6 separate regions of the Homo sapiens genome follow, and regions 1, 2, 3, 4 and 5 are each linked to region 6. The links are contacts of gene promoters, found by promoter capture Hi-C in blood cells and fetal thymus (Javierre and others, 2016). All regions are on one chromosome and are shown on one strand. The core of a region is centred on a gene start or on the middle of the fragment in contact, and the rest is flanking DNA. Distances in the headings are between cores, read along the strand shown.

Region 1 (3,551 bases), core at 304-2,803, 200 kb before region 6:
CCCCGTCTCTACTAAAAATACAAAAAAAAATTAGCCGGGCGTGGTGGCAGATGCCTGGAGTCCCAGCTACTCGGGAGGCTAAGGCAGGAGAATGGCGTGAACCCAGGAGGCGGAGCTTGCAGTGAGCCGATATCGCGTCACTGCACTCCAGCCTGAGTGACAGAGAGAGACTCCATCTCAAAAAAAACAAAAACAAACAAACAAAACTCAAAGTGAATCCTTTCTTTGCCTAAAGTGGTATATGGCCTTAGTGTTCAGATATCTCTGTTTGGGGAGAATTGATAATCAAATGCCAGCAGGTCTTCAGTAGAGGCAGGAGTGACAGGAGTTAAAAAGCCACCGTGGCACCTGACCACGTGCTGCCCAAGAGCACATCTAAAACGGGAAAAAGGACAGAGGTTTTTCCTGCATTTCATGACAAAGATCAGAGAAAGGAATGTTTTGTGTCTTATTTACATTGAGTCTCCTTTCCATATCAAGATGACTAAGAAAGAGTAACAAAGAAACCAGCTGCGGGGTCATCTGTCAAGGACAAGGTTAGTAAATCCAAGGCTTTAGAGAGCCAGGCCCTGCCTACTGTAGCACAAAGGCTGCTCTGAGCACCTGCTACGTGGTGGCAGAAGAGGCTTCAATATGGTCGTAGAGCTTTTTATTTCACGTAGAATTGTGAAGGTTCAAATAATGATATATTATTCTGTGTAAAAAAACCTCAAAAAACAGTAATATAATGCAGAATTATTTAAAATAGCCACATCATTAAAAAGGAAACTTGAAATTTCTCTTTGCAGAGAAGTGACGTACACACCCTGGTTGTCATAACACAGCTTCATGACAGGTGATGGGAGCACACAGGTTTCCTGAGCCCATGCCCTGGTTGTGCAGGTGTCTGTGGGTGGGCGGAGTCCACCATGGCTACCTGGCCTGGCAGGAGGATGCTCTGCTCACGGAATGAGTGAGCAAATACTCTTCTGATGGTGGGGGGAGGCCCTAGGAGGAATGCACCCCACGGGCTCAGAGTGCCTGCTGCACATGGAGAAAGGTGGCAGCACTGACTCTGCTATACAATTAGGTCACCCGAGGAGACAAACACCCACAGGTCCCCTTCATCAGATGCTGCATTTTGAGTTTGTTGTCCTTTCCCAGTTATTTCCCTCAACTGAGACCACGGCATGATCGGTGCATCCTGCACAAGGGTGGAATCAATGATTGGAAGCAAAGTGCTATCTAAGCGGTTAATTCTCAGAGAACGCAACAGTTGAGGTGTCACCGTCAGAGATACAGAGAATGAAATAATCCCAGACCCAGCAGAAAGAGGCCAACCTTTGAGGATTTCCACCTGCTGGTAAAAGCTCTCTCACACAGATAATACATAGCCCCTGCTACCCCAAACATGGCTGCTTCAAAAGGATGAGAGCTGAGCAGAGAAGCTGTTTGTATGGTAGAAAAAAGTGGTCGAAAAGGCGTCCTTGGCCATACACTGGTTATCCTAGGAACCTGAACAACAGATAAGGGAAAAAGAAAATGGCAGGGGGAAAAGAAAAGGAGAAAATAATGCTGAACACAAGTGACCTACACATAGTGATTACAGATCACAAAAGGAAAACAAAACAAAAAACACCATGAGGCTGGTACAGTCCGTGCGAACATCTGCATCCACACGTATAAATCAGTGATGAAACCACGAAGTCCTTCCTGGAGAATCTCAGCGTTCACACAGCAAGGATTTTTCTAATTTAGGGTCCTGCAAACACTCTGAGTTTCCTCAGTGGGGCTTGTTGTGATGAAGGATAGAGGCAACTCGTTACTGTGCCTGAGAAAGCATGGGGACATGTGCCAGGCAGCCACTTGCACCTGCCCCAGGAAGGTACTGCCAACACGAGGTGCCTTTAGACTGGATGGGCATTTGCCCTCGGTTATTTGACCAAATGATGAAAAAAAATGACATTTTAAACATCACAAGAAAAGGGAGGGAGATACAACAAAAATAAAAATTATCAGCCGGGCACAGTGGCTCACGCCTGTAATCTCAGCACTTTGGGAGGCCGAGGCGGGCAGATCACCTGAGGTCAGGAGTTCGAGACCAGCCTGACCAACATGGAGAAACCCCGTCTCTCCTAAGTATACAAAATTAGCCGGGTGTGGTGGCACATGCCTATAATCCCAACTACTTGGGAGGCTGAGGCAGGAGAATCGCTTCAATCCGGGAGGCGGAGGTTGTGGTGAATCGAGATTGAGCCATTGCACTCCAGCCTGCGCAACAAGAGCGGAACTCCATCTCAAAAAAAAAAAAAATTATCAACAATAAAAACATTCCTGCCATTTTCAGTTGAGGAGTTACAAATACAAAATGATTCTTTGTTTTCTAAAATGCAGCTACATTTAAAAATTAATTACACTTATAAAAACAATACTTACCAAGCTATAGGGCATTACTACAAGGTATGATTTTATGGATTTCCCAAGATAAGCTATTAGCAAGGAAGATCATTTCGTCTCTGCTGGTGCTTGGAGGCCTGCGTGGACTCTGCTCCCTGCCCTCAATCTGACCACTGTTCAGTGCTGAGCAGAGCGGCTCTCCCACTGCCTGCTCACTGAGACCTTCCTCAGTGATTGCAAGTTAGTTTATCTTGCTCTCCTTCCTGCTCCACAAAAAAACAGTGCACGGCCTGACCTCGCAACACTAAGAGCTCTGCTTTAACAGGAAACAGACACAGTCATGGGCCCTTGGGGTCAGCTGAAGGTCTCAGCATAACTTCTATTATAAGCTGAAACTACCTTGTAGCTAAGCTGATAGTTCCTTTACATTGCTAATTTTAAACTTTAAGTCTAACCTCAATAATGACATTGTATGATCACATAAAGGCCAGTTACAAGCTGAATGATAGACTGGCTTCTAGGAAAAGCTGAGTGAAGAAGAGAATACCCTAATGATTAGACTTATGAAAAAAACCACAAGTTCCCTCTTACCTATACACATGTATGTGTGTGTGTGTGTATGTATGTATATACATACATGTGTGTATGTATGTACATATGTACGTACATACATATGTGTGTATGCACGTACATATGTACGTACATACATATGTGTGGTATGTACGTACATATGTATATACATACATGCGTGTATATGTATGTACATACATATGTATATACATACATACACACACATATACACACACATACACATATGTGTGTATATATATTTTTAGAGACAGGGTCTTGCTGTGTCATCTACGCTGGGGTGGAGTGGCACATTCTTAGTTCACTGTGGCATCAAACTCCTAGGCTCAAGGGATCTTCCCTCTGCAGCATCCTGAGTAGCTGGGATTACGGGCATGCGCCACCACATCTAACTAAGTTTTTAATTAAAAATTTTGTACAGACAGGGGTTTCTTAAGTTGCCCAGGCTGGTCTCAAACTTCTGGCCTCAGGCGATTCTCCTCCTTTGGCCTCCCAAAGTGCTGGGATTACAGGTGTGAGCCACTGTGCCTGGACCCTCTTACATATTTTAAAGTTGTGATAATAGCTGTATATTTTGGTAAAAGCAA
Region 2 (3,463 bases), core at 744-3,243, 150 kb before region 6:
ACCTGCTGAGGCACATGGGTTTAAACCTAAGCTCCACCACTGTGGTAGGCTTCATTAAGGGCTCAGGTTCTTCATGCTTTCCTGTGTCTATGCCGTTATGTGACTCTGCTCACTAAAGGGGATTATATTTCCCACACCCTGACTTTGGGTTTGGCTATATGATTTGCTTGGCCACTGGAATAGTGGTGGGTGTGATAAGACCAAGGGCTTCAAAAGCATATGTACAATGGGCTTGTCCCTTGTGTTTCTATTATGGCCACGAAAATGTCAAGCCTGGGTTAGCCTGTGGTCCCGGGATAAAGATGAGATACCTGTAAAGTGGAGCTACCACAGGGGATCTGGAGACCCATGAGTTAGTAAGTGCTTTTGCTTTATGCGGCTGTGATTTTGTAGTGGTTAGTTACACGGTATTACTGTGACCACAGCTGACTGAGATAAGGCCACTTGCCAGCTATTTGACACGGAGCAAGTTGCTGCACCTTTCTGAGCTGTAGTTTCCTCATCAATAAAGAAAGTGGTACTTTATCACTTGTTGAGAAGATCAGAATCAGTAGATGGTGTTCTATACATAGAAAATACTAAAAAAGGCTGGGTGCAATGGGTCACACCTGTAATCCCAGCACTTTTGGAGGCCAAGAAGGGTGGATCACCTGAGGTCAGGAGTTCGAGACCAGCCTGACCAACATGGTGAAACCCTGTCTCTACTAAAAATTCAAAAATTAGCTGGGTGTGGTGGTGTGCGCCTGTAATTGCAGCCACTCAGGAGGCTGAGGTAGGAGGATTGCTTGAACCCGGGAGGTAGAGGTTGCAGTGAGCCCAGATCGCACCACTGTACTCCAGCTTGGGCGACACAGTGAGACTCTGTCTCAAAAAATAAAAAAAAAACATAAAATAATACAAAATCTATTTATATTTGTATTATACTTTAACTCTTTTGTTCTCCTGCCTATAATGTGTCAAAGTCTCTACTTGAGTGAAGTCCATCACAATATTTAGCTAAAAACCTGTAACTTGTTAAAATTAACAAGTGACATGGCTGAGCGCAGTGGCTCATGCCTGTAATCCCAGCACTCTGGGAGGCTGATGTGGACAGACCATGAGGTCAGAAGATCGAGACCATCCTGGCTAACATGGTGAAACCCCGTCTCTACTAAAAATACAAAAAATTAGCCGGGTGTGGTGGCACGTGCCTGTAGTCCCAGCTACTCAGGAGGCTGAGGCAGGAGAATCGCTTGAACCTGGGAGGCGGAGGTTGCAGTGAGCCGAGATAGTGCCACTGCACTCCAGCCTGACGACAGAGTGAGATTCCATCTCAAAAAAATAAAAAATAAAAAAAAAATAAAGTGACACAATAGTTACTTAAATATATTTGCTGTAAAATCAAGTGATATATTTCATAAGAATCTTCTATGTAAAATAACTGATTAAATTTCTCAAAACATCCTCAATAACGATTCATAATTTTAAAAAAATGTTGGGTTTGGACAATAAGAAGCTACCAAAAAATATAAAAACCATACCATTTCCCATCCTCTTGTTCCAAAAAGGATTTGAGGTACTTATGGTGTACCATTAGATGCCTCCTAAAATATTCATATTTAAAAAGATTCTTAGATTCTGCCATTAAAGATGTTCTAAAATAATACCCCTAAAATATCCATATTTCTCTCAGGAATGCTTTTGTCCCAACTTCCACATTTCTCTTATTCATTCCTTTAAGATGCAGTTCAAATATCATCTCATCTTTTAAAAGTCTCCCTTTGGGCTTTAAATTAGGAGACAGGAGACAGTTACCCACATTAGAAACTTTTGCTATAATTTATAAAAGGATTCAAACACACTTGGTTTTTTTTTTTTTTTGAGACGGAGTCTTGCTCTTGTCGCCCCATGTTGGAGTGCAATGGTGCAATCTTGGCTCACTGCAATTTCTGCCTCCCGGGTTCAAGTGATTCTCCTGCCTCAGCCTCCTGAGTAGCTGGGATTACAGGTGCCCGCCACTATGCCAAGCTAATTTTTTGTATTTTCAGTAGACACAGGTTTCGTCATGTTGGCCAGGCTGGTCTTGAACTCCTGACCTCAAGTGATTCAGCCGCCTTGGCCTCCCAAAGTGCTGAGATTACAGGCGTGAGGCCCTGTGCCTGGCCCACACTTTGTTACATAGTCGGTTTTGTGTGCATGATTGTTTGGTTAAAAAATTTTACATACTACTTTTCAGAAATTAAAGTCACAGTTATTATATAAAATAACAGACAACTGTCATCATATGCATTCCTGGAGATTATAATTTATCCCTTATCCCATTAGGGAAATTCTGAAACTAGAATCTGCTAGTAAAGACATTCTAATTCTCTCTTAACTCTTTGCTCTTTTCATTCTAATCTTTCTGGGTAATTCACTTAGTGGTCTTATGAGGAGGAAGCTGGTGATCTACGCAAATATAACTCCCTCTGGAGTTAGTGCTTCTCTTGTCAGGGATGACACTAGTTTTCAAATGAAGGTGGCTTATAGTAAGAAATTAAATTTTTACTTTAAGTTTATACTAGCTGTTTGCTAACTTCTGAACACTGGAAGTTATTTATCTGGTTTCAGTGGCTGGGAAAACCAATTTAAAATTTATTGGCCAAGATGATATACACTTAGAACAACACTATCCAAGTATTCTTCATAAAGGAAAATCAATAATCAATTTTATTCTAAAATGACAAATAATACCAGCTTTTAAGACAATGTAGGCAAGTATTTTTGTTTTGTCTTGAATGTTACAAATATCTTGAAGATATCTATCAATAAATTAAGAATATTGCAAACAAGAAACAACCCAAATGACCAGCAACAGATGAAGAGATAAACTGCGATATATTCACACAATGGAATACTTCTCAATACTCTACAGATACAGACAGCAACATGGATGAAATCTCAAAACAATTATGAAGAGTGAAAGAAGCCAAACCAAAAACAGTACATACCAGCTGGGTGCGGAGGCTCATACCTGTAATCCCAGCACTTTGGGAGGCCAAGGCGGGCGGATCACCAGGTAGGTCAGGAGTACGAGATCAGCCTGACCAACATGGTGAAACCCTGTCTCTACTAAAAATACAAAAATTAGCTGGGTGTGGTGGTGCGCACCTGTAATCCCAGCTACTCAGGAGGCTGAGGCAGGAGAATTGCTTGAACCCAGGAGGCGGAGGTTGCAGTGAGCCGAGATCACGCCACTGTACTCCAGCCTGGGCGACAGAGCAAGACTCCATCTAAAAAAAAAAAAAAAACTAAAAAAACAGTATATACCATATGATTACATTTATATAAAATTCTAGAAAGTGCAAACTAGTCTATAGTCACAGAAAGCAGATGACTAATTGCCTAGAAACTGGGGAGGAGGGAGGCAGGAGGTAGGATCATAAAAAGGTATGAGGAAACTTTGGGTGTGATAAATAGGTTCATTATTTTGATTGTGGTGATG
Region 3 (3,542 bases), core at 951-3,450, 220 kb before region 6:
CAGAGCCCCTGGTCCAAGCCGATATTCTGTGCATCTGCCTTCTGCAGCAACCTTGAGATTGTGGTGGATGCCCCCCTAGTGGCTTCTTCTCTCGAGTCATGTTCCCCTTGGTGGGCAAGCTGAATTCTTAGGCTTCTTTTCCCTTTGAGATATTTAAGATGAAAGTTTTATCACTTTAAGGCCTGGCACGGTACCTCATGCCTGTAATCCCAGCATTTTGGGAGGCCGAGGCGGGCAGATCACTTGAGCTCAGGAGTTCAAGACCAGCCTGGGCAATATGGCAAAACCCCATCTCTAGTAAAAATACAAAAATTAGCTGGGCATTGGTGGTGTGTGCCTGTAGTCCCAGTCACTCAGAAGGCTGAAGCGGGAGAATTGCTTGAACCCGGGAGGCGGAAGGTGCAGTGAACCCAGATCGTGCCACTGCACTCCAGCCTGGGTGACAGAGTGAGACTCCATCTCAAAAAACAAAAACAAACAAACAAACAAACAAAAGCACACACAGAAAGTGGCCAGGCATGGTGGCTCACACCTGTAATTCCAGCACTTTGGGCGGCCGAAGTGGGCAGATCGCTCGAGCTCAGGAGTTCCAGACCAGCCTGGGCAATATAGGGAGACCCCTGTCGCTACATTTTTTTTTTTTTAAAGTTAGCCAGGCATGGTGGCATGCACCTGTAGTCCCAGCTACTTAGGAGGCTGATGAGGGAGGATCGCTTGAGCCCAGGAGCTCAAGACTTCAGTGAGCAGCTTTGCACCACTGAACCACTGCACTCCAGCCTGGCTGAGAGTGAGACCCTCTCTCTTAGAAAAAGAAGTGACTGGGTGGGCATGGTGGCTCACGCCTGTAATCCCAGCACTTTGGGAGGCTGAGGTGGGCGGATCACCTGAGGTCAGGAGTTTGAGACCAGCCTGACCAACATGGAGAAACCCCGTGTCTTTATACAAAATTAGCCGGGCGTGGTGGCAGGCGCCTGTAGTCCCCAACTACTCGGGAGGCTGAGGCAGGAGAATCACTTGAACTGGAGGGAGGGGGGTGGGGAGCGTGGGGAGGCGGAAGTTGCAGTGAGCCGAGATCGCGCCATTGCACTCCAGCCTGGGCAACAAAAGCGAAACTCCATCTCAAAAAAAAAAAAAAAAAAAAAAAAAGGAGTGACTTTTCTGTAGAAGCTGCATTGCTCGTTAGGCTCTCCTGTGCAGACGTGGGCTCGCTCCCTCCTCGGCCACGCTATTCCCTAGAGGCTCCACACAATGTCTGCTCACGAGCCTGAGGTTCAGGTTAGAGCTGCAGAAATCCTCATCTTTGGCTTTCTACTCTCCTAAAAACTCTTGCTGCTGGGAGGAATTGGGATGTGAAGCTTTCTGCTGTCACCCTAGGGAAGGGGGTTAGGGATGGAGGCAGATCAGGGACAACAGATAGACGATTGCTGCAGTCAGAAGGCAGCCCCAAAGCAAAGAAGAATGTATACAAGACGGGCAAGCTTCAAGTGAGCCGCATGCCCTCGATTCACAGACAACCTGCCTCATTGCAGCAGCTGTGACCATTCCCAGCACGGGACCCACAGTGTCTGGCCCTCTTGGTGCCAAAAGAAATCTGAATACTAAGCTGTGTCAAACATGCAGATGCTTCTTCAGCTCTCAAGCCCTGAGGACATAAACTTCCAGATGCCCCACATTTCCGGAGCGCTGTCCTGTCAGTTCTGGAGCGCTTGCTGTCACTGCTTCCATCAAACGGGCTCCGAGGCAGCCACCAGTATCGGGAGCACAGCTGCAGTGCCCTGCACGGCAATGGCTAACATACTAGACACCATGTGTATGTTAACAAGATGAGCTGGAATAGTGGTGAAAATTCAGTCTTCCAGGTAACTGCATCTGAACTTTTTTTTCCACCCAGGCTGGAGTACAGTGGCGCAATCTCGGCTCACAGCAACCTCCGCCTCCCAGGTTCAAGCGATTCTCCTGCCTTAGCTTTCTGAGTAGCTCGGACTACAGGTGCGCGCCACCATGCCCAGCTAATTTTTGTATTTTTAGTAGAGACGGGGTTTCCTCATGTTGGCCAGGTTGGTCTTGAACTCCTGACCTCAAGTGATCTACCCACCTCAGTCTTCCAGAGTGCTGGGATTACAGGCGTGAGGCACTGCGCCCGGCCTGCATCTGAACATTTGATTCGTGTAGGCAGAGGCCTTTTCTTTTTTTTTTTTTGAGATGGGGGTCTCGCCATGTTGCCCAGTCTGGTCTTCAACTCTTGGATTTAAGCAGTCCTCTCACCTCGGCCTCCCAAAGTGTTGGGATTACAGGCATGAGCCACTGTGCCCGGCCTAGAGCTTTATATTAAGGTCTTAGCTCTTAAAACTTTTTTGGGTGGGCAAAGGGAGAGGTTTCGCATGCCTTTGGCTAATAGGAGGGAAGCACCACGCCTTTTATTAGCATTATAATCAATGTGTGTGTGCATGTGCCTGGTGCGAGCACTTGCACATTCTGCAGCGATATCAGGAGTCTTTATTTATTTGAGACTGGGTTTCTCTCTTGTTGCTCAGGCTGGAGTGCAGTGGCATAATCTCAGCTCACTGCAACTTCCGCCTCCCGGGTTCAAGCGATTCTCCTGCCTCAGTCTCCTGAGTAACTGGGATTACTGGCACCCACCCCCACGCCAGGCTAATTTTTTGTATTTTTAGTAGAGACAGGGTTTCACCATGTTGGGCAGGCTGGTCTCGAACTCCTGATCCACTCGCCTTGGCCTCCAAAATGTTGGGATTACAAGCATGAGCCACCATGCCTGGCCAAGGAGTCTTTAAATAACTCGTGTGTGCAATCAAGCCCTTTCCTAAAGATAGTTTTCTTTATGAAATTGTAGACTGTGATTTACAACTGTACATCTTTTCCTCAACTGGAGCTGGTAAGAAAAAAGTTAAATATGTGTTACCCAAAGCTTTTCCTACTTATGGTATCCAAATTCTTTGTATATCTGCAATACAGGAAGCACGAGTCAAAGATTATGACTTGGACTTAGTCACTGGACATGTGGATTATGAGTTGGACACATACACACAAGTATCTTGACATACACATATCACAGAGGAACTTCAGAGGAAGGGGCTCCTAAGAAATGTCTGGCAACTGAGGGAACAGGTTATGTAAATGGATTAATATAAAACTCAACTTTATATAATGTGTAAGATATTTAGAAGGTAAACCATGCATTCTTAGTTAAGATAAAAACACAAGAACTTTCCTCTGCTCGTATTTCAGGAATACGTCTGCTGAGGGACACGTTCTACAAAACAATGAAGTTTGCTGCATCAACTGCATTTTCCTTTCATGAAAAATTTCTCTGTACCATGCAGTGGTGTTTGACAGCATGTTACCCACAGTAGAATTACTTTCAAAATCTGAGTCAATCTTCTCAAACCCTGCCGCTGCTTTATCAACTAAGTATGCACTACTGTAAATCTTTGATCACTTCAACAATGTTCACAGCATCTTCGCTGGTAGATTTCCTCTTAAAAAACCACATTGCTCATTCACAAGAACCAATGCCTCAGCAA
Region 4 (3,507 bases), core at 1,003-3,502, 240 kb before region 6:
TGAAATATACACAGCCACAAGATGACCTAGTGTACAGCTGTTTATAATCATATTCCTGAAAATGGCTTCATGATATAGGAAAATGTTTATCAGCAGTTATAAAAAATGGATGGTAAACCCATATATTGAGTGTAATCCCAGTTTAATTTTTCAAGATGTGTGTGCATGTGCATGTATGTGTGTCTGCATGCATATGTGCACACATGTGAATGTGATGGTGCATAGGTGTGTGCACACATCTGGGCTTGCCTCTGGGCTGTGTCTATACATATGCTGGACAAACCTCTCTGGGCACTTCTGAAGAAATGATGATCTTGTCAGAGAATGTTTGTCCTTGCAGGAGGCTCAGAGGCTTCCTGGGAGAGAGCACACCTTGAAGGAAGGGTGGATTAGGACAATTAGGGCAATAAAGTGACTTGCTAGCAACCCCTTAGCAGTCCGGGGGAAGGTCCATGCTGGACAGGTGTGGTGGCCCCTCACTTGGCTCCCTTCAGACGTGTGTCTGACCCTGCAGGTTTCAGGCCTAAACAAGTGCAGAGCTCTGGAAAGCAATGGGTGACTTGCAACCACTCTGATGGCAGGAAATAAAACAAGGGGAGGCTGAGTGCGGTGGCTCATGCCCATAATTCCAGCACTTTGGGAGGCCAAGGCAGGAGGATTGCTTGAGGCCATGAGTTCGACATCAACCTGGCAACATAATGAGACCTAAAAAAATTGTTAAAATAAAAAGTTGGGCTGGGCACGGTGGCTCACGCCTGTAATCCTAGCACTTTGGGACGCTGAGGCAGGCGGATCACGAGGTCAGCAGTTTGAGACAAGCCTGGCCAACATGGTGAAATCCCGTCTCTACTAAAGATACAAAAAAAAATTAGCTGGGTGTGGTGGCGGGCACCTGTAGTCCCAGCTACTAGGGAGGCTGAGGCAGGAAAATCGCTTGTACCCGGGTGGTGGAGGTTGCAGTGAGCCGAGACAGAGCCATTGCACTCCAGCCTGGGTGACAGAGCGAGACTCCATATCAAAAAAAAAAAAAAAAAAGTTGGCCAGGCGTGGTGGCTTATGCCTGTAATCCCAGCACTTTGGGAGGCTGAGGCAGGCGGATCACTTGAGGTCAGGAGTTCCAGACCAGCCTGGCCAACATGGGGAAATCCCATCTCTACTAAAAATACAAAAATTAGCCAGGTGTGGTGGTGGGTGCCTGTAATCCCAGCTACTAGAGAGGCTGAGGCAGAAGAATCACTTGAACCCGGGAGGCGGAGGTTGCAGTGAGCTGAGATCGTGCCACGGCACTCCAGCCTGGGTGATAGAGTGAGACCCCATCTCAAAAAAAAATTAATTAATTTAAAAAGTTAGGCCGGGCGTGGTGGCTCACGCCTGTAATCTCAGCACTTTGGGAGGCCGAGGCGGGCAGATCACGAGGTCAGGAGATCGAGAGCACGGTGAAACCCCCTCTCTACTAAAAAATAGAAAACAATTAGCCAGGCATGGTGGGGGGCGCCTGTAGCCCCAGCTGCTCCGGAGGCTGGGGCAGGAGAATGGCGGGAACCCGGGAGGCGGAGCTTGCAGTGAGCTGAGATCGCGCCACTGCACTCCGGCCTGGGTGACAGAGCAAGACTCCGTCTCAAACAAAAAAGTCATTCAGGTTTGGTGGCACACGCCTGTAGTCCCAGCTACTGGAGGTGGGGCAAGAGGAGGCTGAGGCAGGATGTTCACTTGAGCCTGGGAGGTTTGAGTCTGCAGTGACCCTGATGGCACCACTGCATTCCTGCCTGCTGGGCGACAGAGTGAGACCCTGTCTCAGACAAACAAAAACCAAGGGGCTGCCAGGTGCCGAGGCGTGCAGGTGCTGAGCCGGCGGCCGGGGAGGGCTCGCGGGACTCCTCAGATTTGTCGGACCAGCCTTTCATTAAAGTGAAGAGACTAGCGCGTTGCCCAGGCCTGGCGGCGGCTTTTCCTCCCCTTCACCCTTGCGGCCCCGGCCCCGGCGCTTGCTCACCGCCGCCTATGCTCTCCCCGCAGCCACCCGTGGGACACGGTCATCCAGGCGGCCATGCGCAAGTACCCGAACCCGATGAACCCGAGCGTGCTGGGCGTGGATGTGCTACAGCGCCGCGTGGACGGCCGCGGCCGCCTGCACAGCTTGCGCCTGCTCAGCACCGAGTGGGGGCTGCCCAGCCTCGTGAGAGCGGTGAGCGGGGCGGGGGCTGCGGCTCCGAACGCGCCCGACTCCCCCACTCCCGCCCCCGCCCTCTCCCGCGTCCCTCCTCCCCTCATCAGTGCCTCTGCTGCTTTGGCTGCCATCGGGGTGGGAGGGCGGCGGGGGGCCTTTCCTGAGATCAGGGGGCGCGGGGTGGGGGTGGCGGTGGGGGGAACTTCCCCGAGATCAGGGGGCACGGGCTGGGGGGCTGGTGGGAGGGTTTTCCTCGAGATCGGGGGGCGTGGGGTGGGGGGTCGGTGGGGGGGGATCTTCCTCGAGATCGGGGGTCACGGGGTGGGGGGACGGTGGGGGGGTCTTCCTCGAGATCGGGGGTCGCGGGAGGCTCTGCCTGGCGCGTGGCGTCTGGCATCCCCATCTGTCCTCCCAAAGGGCCCGGGCCTGCTGGATTAGCACTGCCAGGCGCCCCTCCTCCTGGTTTAACCGCCTCTAAAGCCCAGCGTCCGCAGCCAGCCGCATCCTAGGGCACCGGGATTAGGCTTCACCATGGTTCAGCCCCCCGTGGCCTCTTCCTCAGAGCCAGGGAGGTCGCTGGAAATGCAAATCTGAGCACGGCTCACCCCAACCCGGCCCCTGGATCTCGCCTCCACCTGCAGTCCACACCCTGGCCTGGCGCAGGCCTCTCAGTCAGCCCAGCTCCTGCTGCAGGGGCCTGCACCTGCTGCCCCCAGCCTGACACCCCCACCCCAGCACTATGGTGGTACCTTCCTCTTTGGGGCTCTGCCCAGACTCCGCCCGGCAGAGGGGCCTCCTAGCTCCACTGCCCGCAGCCTGTTTTATTTTGCCGGGAGCATAGTGCTGCTGCACGCTCCACTCTGTTGGAATTCATTTCTTTGCTCAGTGGCTCACCTGCTGGAGCGGAAGCGCCCTGGACACAGGGGTTTTGTCTCTGTCCCTTGCTGCATCCCATGATATCATTTCTTGAATAGTGAACTAATTAGTAAATGCAATGGTATTCGGTGGTGATATGAAGTAGAATTTTTAACGTTCCACTATGCTAGTTTTGCTTTGTTTTCTAGATTTTGGGAACCAGTAGGACATTGACATACATCCGAGAACATTCTGTGGTGGATCCAGTGGAAAAGAAAATGGAACTTTGTTCTACCAATGTAAGCAATGGCCTCAGATGAGAAACGGGCTCAGTGTGTCTGGGTGGTGGTGCGTAAGGCCTTCGTTTAATTCTATTTCCAGCCCACCTTTGGTCTAGGTGTTGCTTATTTTTAACAGAAAGGCTGAATTCATTTAGCAGTTTATCTTTTTATTCAAGTATAATAAGTATATAGAAAAATGCACAT
Region 5 (3,424 bases), core at 720-3,219, 170 kb before region 6:
AGTTGGCCCCTTGGTGAAACTCTGTTGTCACCAAAGATAACCTTGCCTTCCTGGCTTTTGATTTCTGGAAGCCTGAGGTCCTGGTGGGGATTATGCCCAGTGGGGAGGGCCTTTGTGGTTGGAGACGGACACACTGCAGAGCAGCAGTAGCTTCGGAAGTACAGGCATATCAGGCACAATGTCTCTCTAGTTGCTGTTTTCCAGGGAGACAGCCTCTAGACTTCTAATACCCCAATTTAATGGAATGTAAATATGTCTCAGTGTGTATTTTAGCAGCTGGTTTTAAAGGAATAATTTTTATTTACAACCCAAAAGCTCAATATTAAAAAAAAATGACGTGAAGGAAAAGTACTTATTTACATCCCAAGCACACATTAGCAAGATGTCAGAATCATATGTAGATGTTTTTAGATATACACACGTCAATAAAGGGGATATGCATGTTAGATGTGGCAAATAAATCAACTATTATTTAACAATCATACTTACTGTTCAAGGACTGGGAAATAATATTTTAAGTATTTTCATCCTAATGTATAGTATGTTTTAAACAGGCATTTTACTGTGTTTTAATTATCTCATAGGAAATTGATTAGGGATTTTGTGTTGATAAGAATAATCTTCCTTGGGTCAGGCGCGGTGGCTCACGCCTGTAATCCCAGCACTTTCGGAGGCCGAGACGGGTGGATCATGAGGTCAGGAGATTGAGACCATCCTGGCTAACATGGTGAAACCCCGTCTCTACTAAAAAAAATACAAAAAATTAGCCGGGCTTGGTGGCGGGCTCCTGTAGTCCCAGCTACTCGGGAGGCTGAGGCAGGAGAATGGTGTCAACCTAGGAGGCGGAGCTTGCAATGAGCCAAGATCGCACCACTGCACTCCAGCCTGGGAGACAGTGCGAGACTCCGTCTCAAAAAAGAAAGAATAATCTTCCTTGAACTTATCTCGGAAAAGTTTTCTAAAAAGTAAAGAAAAAAAACATCTTCCACTCACCATTCAAAAAACCGTACTTCTAAACTCCTATATTACCTACTCTAGATTGTCCTAATTATGTATAGCAAATAAAGTATTACATATTATCACAGCACTCTTCCATCTTCTCTAATATCTTTTTATTCTGCTCTTTTTTTCTCTAGCACTTGAATATATCTTTTGAAATAAGGCTGACTACTGTGTTAAGAAGGGGATGCAATTATTTCTTGGGAGATGACATTTATATATTTTCCAATCTCTATATCAAAAAGAGGACAAAAATTGAGGATGTCAATTAAGATGTTTAGAAGAAAACAAATGATCAGAGACATGAACAAAGACTGATGTACAAGAATAGTAATTTCAGACTTACTAGGAAAAAATAGAAAAAGCTTGTGAATCAGGAAAATAGGTAAATAAAACCCAATTTAGCCATCTGTTAGGAGATCACATCCTTATAAATCGTATTTGGAGTCATATTTAATGACATAGGAAGATGGTCATGCCAAATAAACCATTAGATGCAGATAACAAAGTACTGTATATACACAGTTTTCATCCTCATTTTGTAATGCACAAGTAAATTCACAGTGGATGCCTCCGGCTGTTGTTATTATGGGTAACATTTTCATCTTTAAACATTCAGGCATTTTTGCCATTGCTGCATTGAGCTCCTACTTGCAATTACATGTAGGGGAAAGTGATACAAATATTTAGGGAAACTTTTCTTCAAGTTAATTCTGCCAATATTATCAGAACTGAACTCCCCAAAGCAAAACTGTATAGTAAGAACCAATGTAGTTCTGTAGAAAAAATGACCAAAATCCCTTACTTTACAATTAGGGTTTAATATCCATTTGAACTCGGAATTCTAGAAGTAACACTCTCACAGAACAATATCTTTCTGTAACAGCTCAATTCTGGTGGTTGTGAAATACCAATTGTCAAGGTTAAAATAAAGACATACTTAACATAAAAATGTTATTTAATTATTCTAAAGTAGGGTTCCCATTAGCAACTACATATAATTTTAAAAAGTGAAACTGAAGAATATGGCTTGCTATGAGAGATTGAATCACTCATCAAAAAGCTCCCCAACAAAGGCAGGTTCAGGACCAGATGGATTCACTGGTGAATTCTACCAAATATTGAAAGAAGAATTAATGCCAATCCCTCTCAAGCTCTTTCAAAACACTGAAGATGAGAGAACACTTCTAATTTTGTTTTACGAGGCCAAAACCCCCAAAATTACAGGCTAAAATCCTTAATGAATATAGATTCAAAATTCTGAACAAAATACTAGCAAACTGAATCCATCAGCACAATAAAAGGATCATACATCATGACCAAGTGGGATTCATCCCTGGGATGCAAGGACAGCTTAACACATGAAAATCAATTAACATGATACACCACCGTAACAGAATAAAGAATAAAAATCACATGATCATTTCAAATGCAGAGAAAGCATGTGACAAAATTCAACACCTTTTCAAAATAAAAACACTCAACAAATTAGGAATAGAAGGAAATTACCTCAACATAATAAAGGCCACATATGGAAAGCTGACAGCTAACATCATACTCAATAAGGGAAAACTGAAAGCTTTTCCTCCAAAATCAGGAACAAGGCAAGGATGACCACTTCTATATTCAACATAGTACTGGTAGTTCTAGCCAGAGCAGTTAGGCAAAAAAAGAAATAAAAGGCATCCAATTGGAAAGAAAGTAATAAAAGTGTCCCTGTTTGCAGATGACATGATCTTACAGATAGAAAACTCCATAAAAATTTTTTTCAATACACTAACAACAAAAAGACAATCCCATTGACAACAGCACCAAAAAGAATAAAATATCTAGGAGTAAATTTAATAAGGAGGTAAAAGACTTATATACAAAAACTATGAGACAGAAACAAATGGAAGAATAATATTCATGAATTGAAAGACTTACTGTTAACATGTGAATACTACCCAAAGCTATATACAGATCCAATAGAATCCCCAAGAAAATCCTAATGGTATTTTTTACAGAAGTAGAAGATAATCCTAAAATTCCTATGGAACCACAAAAGACAATGAATAGCCAATCAATCTTGAGAAAGAATAACAAAGCCAGAGACATCACACTTTCTGATCTTACAATATATTATAAAGTTACAATAACAAAAACAGCATGGTACTGGCAAACAACAGTGGAACAGAACAAAGAGTCCAGAAATGAACCCACACATATACAGTCAACTGATCTTTTTTTTTTCTTTCTTTCTTTCCATGGAATCTTGGTTCACCCAGGCTAGAGTGGAGTGGTGCAATCACAGCTCACTACAGCCTTGATCTCCTGGGCTCAAGTGATCCACTCTGAAGCTTTGTCACCAGAAAGTACATTTAATTATTTCAACCCATGAGAGTACTCTGTACAGCCCAGTGCTGTACTAGGGACACAACAACGA
Region 6 (3,331 bases), core at 405-2,904:
AAAAGATAAAAACGTTCTGGTGGAACTGAAAGAATAACTATAACCTTGAATATTGTTTTAATCAAGTTAGACAAGGGTTTTCATTAAATGTCATTTTACTAATTCGAAATTACATCTTTCACCTTAAGCATTTTGACATTTCCATCAACTTTCTAAAAGTGAGGGTAGATTGTTTTTCTATGTTTTTAATAGACTTGCCTCTCAAAAGAATGAATTAGATAAAAACTGATGGGAGAAACCTTTTCTCAACCTCCTCCTCCTCTTCAATGAGCATCTGAGTAAACCCTGGCTATAAATTACTGTTTAGGTCATAATCCTGAAAATTTTACATTAGACAATGACGTAACTAAGGCCCATTTTCTCTTTGTATCCCGACATCCTGTCAACTTTTCACTTTACAAGCCTGTTTTTCATCACAACAAATTTTCACATACAGGAATGCAATCAGTATTTTCTAACGTCCAGGAGCCAAAAATCACTATTTAGTCTATTTTTCCATTTCTCCCCAAAGAGCAGAATTCTCACGGTTCAGAATCATCTTTACATTTCCGAACCGAGGAAAGGCTGTCTAATGTGGAATACTGCTAGTTTCCCGTGAGGAGTGCGGTGTTTCCGACAGCGGCACTGAGGATCCGTGCGGAGCCCCCGCGTGAAGCCTGCGATGCCCTCCCCACCCCGTGAACCCGGCCGTGTGTCAGCAGCCACGGCGTGAGGCGCACAGGCCGCTGGCCCGGAGCAGGGCCCAGCCCACCGCTCCCAAACGCGCCGCGGGCAGCTGTCCCGCGGGCAGCACAATGACGAGCGCCCCGCGGCCCGCAGGCCCAGGCCCACCCAAACGTCCTCCGCACAGCGGATTTGCGCCGTCGCCCGCCACGAGGCTCTGACCTCCGAGGGGCCCCGGCCAGCCACGGCCTGACGCCGTCCTCCCCTGCGGGTCCCCGCCGGATCCTCCCGGGGGTCTCCCGTGGCAAAATGGGGGGGGACGGCGGGGGCGGAAGGGCCGGGGACGCTGAGGGTAAGGCGGCCCAGCCGCGGGTGTTCCAAGAACTACGAGGGAAAGGGGCCCGGCGGCCTCACCCGCAACTGGGGGCGGCTCTCCCGCGTCGTCGGCCGCGGGCGCCAGGGTGACGGCGCCGTCCCTCCAGACGCGGATCTGCGCGGCCGAGCGCACACGGTGGCGGGGCTGGCGGCGGCGGGCGGCGGCGCGCAGGGAACCGCAGCACTGGTAGCACACGGCCCACGCCTGCTCCTCGTTGATGGGCTGGTTGTACAGCCGCAGGATCTCCTCCAGGCTCAGCGCGTCCCGGGAGCCCCCGGCCGCGCCGCCGGCTGCCCCGGGCTCCCGCGGCCCCTCGCCGCCCACTGCCTCAGTCCGCGGCTCCCCGCCGCCCGCCGGGCCAGCCGCCTGAGCCATCCCGCGGGTGGGCGCTGCGCTCGGCAGTCGCGCCGTGTGCCGGCGTCTCCTCAGCTCCGGAGCATCGTCGTCGCGCGCCGCCGCCTCACCATCCCCGGAACCGCCGCCGCCCAACGCGGCCGCGCGCGCCGCCGCCGGGACCAGGCGAGTGCCCGGGAGGCGTGGGCAAGAGGAGGGCGGCGAGGACACGGCTGCAGTCCCGGTCAGACAGCCGCCGGCCGGTAGCGACGCGATGGCGTCCGGCGCCCCGCCCCGCCCCGCCCCGCCTCGCGCCGTCCAGCGCCGCCCAGCGCCCGCCCCTTAGGGGGCCGCACGGGCCGGGGGATGCACGCTCTGGAGGTGAGGACCAGGCAGGAGGGCCTCGCCTCGAGGCGAGATGGCCGCACGGTCTCTAGCCCGCAGGGCTCTCAGAGTCGCAGGCGGTGACGCCCGGTCGGGGGGCCCGGTCGCAAGGGACACACAGCTGGGGGCGCAATGGTGAGGGCGGCGACGCACGGTCCGGAGGGGATGCGCGGCCGGGTAGGGCGTGCAGGGTTGTGGGGCGTGGGGGACACGCGGGGCCGGGCGCGCGGTCGGGGGGCGCAGGGGCAAGAGGGTGTCGCATTTATCAGGGAAGTCCCCGGCCGACTCTGGCGGGGAACTGGGCGCGCCAACCCGGGTCACCGCCCTGCACAGCGGGAGAAGTCACCCGCATTGACGTTCCCTAGGCGCTGGATCGCCGAAGGTCTGGTTGAAAACTTGAACCCGCCTGGAGCGGATGCCTAAGAAAATGCAGGCCCGCTGAAGCCTCCCCGCCGGGCCCTGGGCCCTGAAAGCCTCCGGCAGTTTCCCGTGACCCCGCGGCCGCTCTGCGCGTTTTCCGATTTCTTGCTGGTTGAATACCTCCCTCTCCACTCCCATCTTCAGGGTAAGCACCGTAAAGACGGGGATCTTTACGGGTTTTCCTCACTGACTTCTCCCAAAAGCTAAACCAGCGCCTGGAATATAAACATGTACATAATTTGCAGGTGTTAGTTTTAGCGTCCTTCCGGATTCATTTGTAACATTGGTCCCTTCCCTCACTAAGGTAATGTCTCAAGTACCACACTCATCAGAGCATGTGGAATGAATATCACAGTGGTAAAATTGAACTGAGGGCAATTAGCCGTAGAAAGAAAGAATTCCGCCCCCCCAACCTATTAAATATGCAATAAAACAGATAATTCTTAATCACCCATTGGTAGATTAATTTAATCGATAAAATTCCACTGAGGCTAGTCCTGTGTGAAAGCCCTACAGAGTGTTGAAAGCATCAACCAAATAGGCAATGTATATTAAGTTCCAGTAAACCTTTTACGGCAGTTTTATGTAAAATGTTAGAAATCACGCTCTCAACAATTGCATCTTGCGGTAGAAACTACAACAGTCTATTTAAATAACAACAGTCTATTAAAATGAGATACCATCTTACATACAGCTGGGAATGGGGAGGAGGGAGAAAAGCAACAGGACGAAAAGGAAAATTAAGAAATTGAAAGAGGGCCGTGCGCAGTGGCTTAGGCCTGTAATCCCAGCACTTTGGGAGGCTGAGGCGGGCAGATCACTGAGGTCAGGAGTTCGAGACCAGCCTGGCCAACATGGGGAAACCCTGTCTCTACTAAAAATACAAAGAAAATTAGCCGAGTGTGGTGACGCACGCTTGTAATCCCAGCTACCCGGGAGGCTGAGGCAGGAGAATCGCTTGAACCTGGGAGGTGGAAGTTGCAATGAGCCAAGATCACACCACTGCACTCCAGCCTGGGGGACAGAGCGAGAGTCTGTCTCAAAAAAATAAATAATAAATTGAAAGAGGAGAAGAAAGCTCCCCAGGCAACTTATTATAATTTCAGTACGAGAGAGACAAAACAACCCCTTAAAGTAGCATCACTTAATTATAGG

Evidence for each region. Contacts are between HindIII fragments. The CHiCAGO score rates a contact against its expected background, and 5 or more counts as called.
Region 1: a contact is called between a fragment that was not itself captured here and the fragment with the promoter of SPIRE1 in region 6, in 5 of 17 cell types (M1 macrophages, M0 macrophages, M2 macrophages and 2 more). The highest score is 21.1, in M1 macrophages.
Region 2: a fragment that was not itself captured here is called in contact with the fragment with the promoter of SPIRE1 in region 6 in 3 of 17 cell types (M1 macrophages, M0 macrophages and M2 macrophages); the score reaches 11.4 in M1 macrophages.
Region 3: a contact is called between a fragment that was not itself captured here and the fragment with the promoter of SPIRE1 in region 6, in 5 of 17 cell types (M0 macrophages, M1 macrophages, endothelial precursors and 2 more). The highest score is 12.5, in M0 macrophages.
Region 4: a contact is called between a fragment that was not itself captured here and the fragment with the promoter of SPIRE1 in region 6, in 11 of 17 cell types (M2 macrophages, M1 macrophages, megakaryocytes and 8 more). The highest score is 19.5, in M2 macrophages.
Region 5: a contact is called between a fragment that was not itself captured here and the fragment with the promoter of SPIRE1 in region 6, in 4 of 17 cell types (M0 macrophages, M1 macrophages, M2 macrophages and 1 more). The highest score is 16.4, in M0 macrophages.

Annotation. Positions count from the first base shown.
Region 1 is chr18:12,458,435-12,461,985 of GRCh38, forward strand. All of the region lies in intron 12 of SPIRE1 (spire type actin nucleation factor 1), which reads right to left. Among named protein-coding and RNA genes, the nearest start is that of PRELID3A, 52 kb to the left of the region's middle. The HindIII fragment of the contact is 7,794 bases long and covers 1-3,551 here.
Region 2 is chr18:12,506,831-12,510,293 of GRCh38, forward strand. All of the region lies in intron 5 of SPIRE1 (spire type actin nucleation factor 1), which reads right to left. Among named protein-coding and RNA genes, the nearest start is that of PRELID3A, 100 kb to the left of the region's middle. The HindIII fragment of the contact is 5,609 bases long and covers 1-3,463 here.
Region 3 is chr18:12,440,147-12,443,688 of GRCh38, forward strand. LOC105371998 (a long non-coding RNA gene) reads left to right here. Exons shown (of 6, transcript NR_136514.1): 5 at 3,247-3,429. Among named protein-coding and RNA genes, the nearest start is that of PRELID3A, 34 kb to the left of the region's middle. The HindIII fragment of the contact is 1,448 bases long and covers 1,477-2,924 here.
Region 4 is chr18:12,418,309-12,421,815 of GRCh38, forward strand. PRELID3A (PRELI domain containing 3A) reads left to right here. Exons shown (of 7, transcript NM_001142405.2): 2 at 2,017-2,185; 3 at 3,232-3,321. Among named protein-coding and RNA genes, the nearest start is that of PRELID3A, 12 kb to the left of the region's middle. RefSeq lists a silencer at 2,176-2,325. The HindIII fragment of the contact is 6,008 bases long and covers 1-3,507 here.
Region 5 is chr18:12,488,276-12,491,699 of GRCh38, forward strand. The region is part of intron 8 of SPIRE1 (spire type actin nucleation factor 1); the gene reads right to left. Among named protein-coding and RNA genes, the nearest start is that of PRELID3A, 82 kb to the left of the region's middle. The HindIII fragment of the contact is 1,214 bases long and covers 1,363-2,576 here.
Region 6 is chr18:12,656,453-12,659,783 of GRCh38, forward strand. It overlaps SPIRE1 (spire type actin nucleation factor 1), which reads right to left and starts at 1,655. Exons shown (of 17, transcript NM_001128626.2): 1 at 1,078-1,655. The coding sequence starts at 1,414. It also overlaps a transcript of PSMG2 not described here. RefSeq lists silencers at 1,075-1,194, 1,385-1,804, 1,674-1,842, 1,845-1,914, 1,965-2,114. The HindIII fragment of the contact is 7,532 bases long and covers 1-3,331 here.